Regions from separate parts of the Homo sapiens genome. Here region 2 is linked to region 1. Evidence: promoter capture Hi-C in human tissues and cell types (Jung and others, 2019). All regions are on one chromosome and are shown on one strand. The core of a region is centred on a gene start or on the middle of the fragment in contact, and the rest is flanking DNA. Distances in the headings are between cores, read along the strand shown. Region 1 holds the start of BHLHE22 (basic helix-loop-helix family member e22). Region 2 has its middle 140 kb from the start of CYP7B1.

Region 1 (2,526 bases), core at 14-2,513:
CTTTCGCACCGAGGGGCTGTGCGCGTAGGGGATCACCGCGCGCAGCTCGTCCAGCGCGTCGTTCAGGTCGTGCATCCGCCGGCGCTCTCGGGCATTGATGTTAAGCCGCAGCGCCTTTTGCTCTTTGGATTTCTTGCTGCTGCTGCTGCTGCTGCTGCTGCTGCCGCCGCTGCCGCTACCGCTACCGCCACCGCCGCCACTGCTACCGCTGCTGCTACCCCCGCCGCCGCCGCCGCCCAGGCCCCCCGGGGGGACGCTGGCGCCGCCGTGGAGGTGGGCATTGGAGCAGCCCTCGGCTGCCTTCGCGCCACCACCTCCCGCTCCCGGGGAGGCCCGCGGGTCGGCTACTCCGGCCCGCAGCACGAGCTCGCAGCGACCGTCGCTGTCGTCGTCGGGGCTCTGCTCGCCGCCGCTGCTCTCGGCCACCGAGCCCCGGCTCGCGCTTTCGCCGTACTTGAGGCAAAGGGCGGCCCCGGCCGGCAGGCTGCTTAGGCTAGGGTCGCCCCCAACGCCGGCTGAACCTACTAGCAGCCCGGGGACACCCACCCCGCCGCCGCCGCCGCCGCCACTTCCCGCGCTGCCGCCGCCGCCTCCTCCAGGCGGCGGCAACAGCAGCCCTGCCCCCTCGGGGTCAGCCGGCTCGAAGCAGCCCAGGGGCGACGAGGAGGAGGACGCCGGGCGTTCCCGAGGCGGCGGCGCCAGGGACAGGTCCATGCCCGGGGGCGTGGAGCGGAAAGCCGCTTCCAAGCGCTTGGAGGTGGAGGCGCTCAGGCTCTTGTGCAGGAAGAGGTCGTCCTCGCCGGCGGCCGCTGCACCGAGGTGCATCCCGCGCTCCATGGTCCCGCGCCGGCGCGCAGCCCGGGCCGCCGCGCCCGCTGCCGCCGCCGCCGCCTCGGCCCCGGAGTCAGGCGGCCCCACAGACGCGCGCGAGCTGGGCTCCGGAGCTGGTGCGCGCGTCGGTCCTGGTGCTGCCGGGAGCCCTCTCCCCTTCTTTCTTTTTCTTTTTCGCCTTCCCCCGCGCTCGCCGCCTCCTCTTCTTCTTCTTCTTCGTCTCCAGCCGATGGTGCTGGCTGCTGGGGCTCACCATGGGCCGCGGCCCCGCATGGTGGGAGGGTGGGCGCGGAGGGAGTGGAGCCGCCGCCGCCGCCGCTCTGAGCCCAGCCCCGCGCCTCCTCTCCGCACCGTTTATCTTGCTTGGATTCACCTTCAAGAGATTTCCGGACCCATCAAACAGCCGCCGCCACAGACGGGGGAGTCTTTTACATCATTATCTCTGAGTAGGTTATTATGAAGAAGACTCGCCTGTTGGGACAGCGCTTTCTACCCAATCAGGTTAACGTTTTAATTAATAGGATTAAAACGGTAACAAACAATCGCAGGCGCTATCTGGCCGCAAGTCTGAATAGTTTCATTTCCCAGGTCTGAAGACAGGCAGCAGCTAGAGCTTTATAAAAGGCGCCTGCTCCATTATTCTGCCTGCCATCTGTATACACAGCTTAGCGCATATGTTTGCAAGGCGCTGGGTCCTGTTAGTAACCCAACAACTGCCTTTAGCTTGACATGTGTGGCGACTTTCACTCATCAATGAGCACACTAAAAGCCCTACTTAGAGCCGAGGATGTTCTTTGCTCCTTCAGCAAATTGTAGATCGGCGGCGAAGCCTGGGAGTCCTGTGGAAAGCAGACGCCCCCACCCACCGCACCCCACCCCCCACTGCCCTTCCCTCGCCACTGCTGTCTCAGCTTGTGCTAAATTACCCTTCCGGGCGAGAATTATACTCCACCCCTGTTCGTAGGATGACTGGTCTGGATTTGGGGATGGGACTTTCCGAGAGAAGGTGGTGTCCCAGCTGGCTTGCCCAAAATTCACTCTAGGTTTTCAGCTGGTCAGAGAGCAAAGCAGTCGTCCCCCCGAACACTCTGCCTCGTTTCCACACCCGCCACTGCCCATTTCCTACCCAGATTGGAAAAAAAGAAAGAAAAAAGCAAAATGAAGAGCAAGTGATCATGCAGCCCATTTTTTTTTAAGGTGGGGTGGCAGTGATTTTGCAGTGGTCTCCAAATAACTGTTACAGTGATGGTAATTGTGAAGTACACAATTTCCTAAACAGGAAGAAAACAAACAAACAAACCGGTTTCTCAAACTTTCCTTAAGATGAAAATCTGATTGCTTCAAAAGAGTCAACTTCACCAGGAGTCAAATCCGCTCCCACACGAAGTGAGGCATTTATGCATATTTATTTACCCGGAAGCCATTTAAGGACATCTGGATCAGCCTCGGTTGTTCTTGGAGGGTTCGGGAAGGGAGAATGTAAAAACAAGTGCTCCTCTCCGGATGGGCACTGGTACACGCGGTCATCTCACTCCTGAGTTCGGTCTCTGGGTACACATGGTATTTAGCAGCTGGTTTTCATCCTTATGACATAAGTAAAAACAATATTTCCCAACACCTTCCAATAACTCTTTCTTATATGGCAGAAGTACTGAAGACTATGCAATTTTTGGTTTCTCTGGTTTCATTAAAAAC
Region 2 (2,526 bases), core at 17-2,516, 360 kb before region 1:
TATCTAACAGATTAATTATAGTCCACAATATTTTACAAATTTAAAGTGTTTAATCATCTGTTCACACCTTATATAATTCTTAACTCTTTAGTTACATCACTATTTGTAGTCCCATAAATAAGAGTGATGACAACACTAAGACGTTGTTCTGTTAAAATAAACTTCTTATAAGAAGTAGAAAAAAAATTGTGTTCAGCTGGAAAAAGGAATTACTAAATTATGTATCTTTTACTTTGAGTAAAAAATGAGTTTTAAATGATTTATTTCTTGACCAGCTCTTCAAAGTCAGAAGCTTTCAGCCAGCATATCACTATAATGATAATACAATATACTAAATCAGTAGAATAAAGGATAAAAGCGACATGATCAATGGGCACAGGAGAAGATTATTGCATTAGTCACAATAGCTAAGATATGGAAACAACCTAAGCATCTATCAACAGATGAATAAATAAAATGTGGTATGCATACACAATGGAATATTATTTAGCCATAAAAAGAATGCAACTCTGTCATTTGCAGCAACGTGGACAGAACCAGAGGACATTATGTTAATGGGAGCTAAAACAATTGATTTCATGGAGATAGAGTAGAATGGTGGTTACCAGAGGTGGGGAAGGGTGGGAAGGGGTTAGTTAACTAGTACAAAAATACAGTTACATGGAAGGAATAAGTTTTAATGTTCAATAGCACAGTAGGGTGACTGTAGTTAACAATAATACATTATATGTTTCAAAACAGCTAAAAGAGAAGATTTGGAAAGTTCCCAACAAAGAAATGGTAAGTGTTTGAGATGATGGATATCTTAACTTCTCCGATTTGATCATTATACATTGTATTCATGTGTCAAAATATCAAATGTACTCCATAAATATGTACAACTATTATGTATCAATAACAAAAACTTTGTTAAATGAAAAAAGCCAGATACAAAAAGGTCCCATGTTATATGATTCCATTTATATGAACTATCCAGAAGAGGGGAATCCATAGAGACAGAAAGACCGGTAGTTGCCAGGGGATAGGAGGAATGGGATCAACTGCTAAGTGGCTACATATTTCCTTTTAGGGCAATGAAGAGGTTTTGGAATTGGATAGCAGTGGCAGTTGCACAAAATTGTAAATGTACTCAATGCTACTGGATTTTTCACTTTAGAAAAGTTAATTTTATGTTAGTTATTTTCATCTCAAAAAAAGCTAAAATAAAAAATTCAATATTCCTCCATGATAAAATCATGAAGGAAACTAGGAATAGAAGGGAAGTCCTCAATTTAATAAACAAAAGCTACTAAAAAACCATAGCTAACATCACACTTAACAGTGAAGCACTAAATGCTTTTCTTCTAAGGTCAGGAATAAGGAAAGGATATATACTCTCATGACTCCTTTTCAAAATTGTACTAGAGATTCTAGGCAGTACAACAGGCAAGAAAAATACATAAAAGGCATTCAGATAGGAAAGAAAGAAATGAGTCTATCTCTATTTGAAGATAAAGTGATTTGTATATAGAAAAACCTAAAAAATACACTAAAAGTATGAGCTAACAATCAAGCTTGACAAGTATGCAGGATACAAGATCAATATAAAAAATGAGTTATATTTCTACGCCATAGCAATAAACAAACTAAAAATAAAATTTAGGACACAATTCTACTTATGATAGCATTTGTAATAGCATAAAAAGAATAAAATACTTTGGAATAAATTTAATAAGTTATATAAAATGTATACTCTGAAAATTAGAAAATATTGTTGAAAGAAATTAAAGGAGACCTAAAGAGATGAAAGATATCCCTGAGCTCGTATATTGGAAGGTATAATATTGTTAAAGGGAAATACAGATTCGACACAATTCTCACTAAAATTGATCTATAGATTCAACACAAAAAGTAAAATTCCAACTGACTTATTTGCAGAAATTGATAAACTGAACTAAGATTCACATGCAAATGCTAAGTACCCAGAATAGGCAAAACAGTTCTTGAAAAAGAATAAAATGGGAGGATTCACACTTAGTACAAAGCTGCAGCAACCAAGACAGTGCAGTACTGGCATAGGATAAGACATACAGATCAATGGAATAGAATCAAGTTCATAAATATTTTACATTCACAGTCAATTGATTTTCAACAAGAATTCTAGGGCAATTACATGGGGGGAAAAGAATAATCTTTCAACAAATGGTGAGGGGACAAGTGGATACCCACATGCAAAATAATGAACTCAAAATTAACAAAAAAACAGAATGTAAGAGTTACAACTATAAAATTTTTAGAAGCAAACATGGGCATATATTTTTGAGATCTTAGATTAGGCAGTTATTTTTTTAGATATGACACAAAAAGTGTAAGCAATGAAAGAGAATGTACCTAAAGTGAACATAAAAATTAAGAACTTTCAGCCTTCAAAAAACACACCATAGAGAAAGTGAAAAGATAACTCATAGGATTGGAAAACATTTTTGCAAATCTTGTAAGGTAAGGTACTTGTAGATGTTGGAACTTTCCTACATTGCTGGTGTAAAT

Evidence for each region. Contacts are between HindIII fragments. The study calls those that stand out against the background at their distance.
Region 2: a contact is called between a fragment that was not itself captured here and the fragment with the promoter of BHLHE22 in region 1, in 1 of the 25 tissues and cell types used here (dorsolateral prefrontal cortex).

The regions. Positions count from the first base shown.
Region 1 is chr8:64,579,102-64,581,627 of GRCh38, reverse strand. It overlaps BHLHE22 (basic helix-loop-helix family member e22), which reads right to left and starts at 1,263. Exons shown (of 1, transcript NM_152414.5): 1 at 1-1,263. The coding sequence starts at 837. LOC124900252 reads left to right here and starts at 1,616. Exons shown (of 2, transcript XM_047422518.1): 1 at 1,616-2,526. All of the region lies in intron 1 of BHLHE22-AS1 (BHLHE22 antisense RNA 1), which reads left to right. RefSeq lists an enhancer at 396-475. The HindIII fragment of the contact is 20,885 bases long and covers 1-2,526 here.
Region 2 is chr8:64,934,529-64,937,054 of GRCh38, reverse strand. No RefSeq gene overlaps it. Among named protein-coding and RNA genes, the nearest start is that of CYP7B1, 140 kb to the right of the region's middle. The HindIII fragment of the contact is 3,935 bases long and covers 1-2,526 here.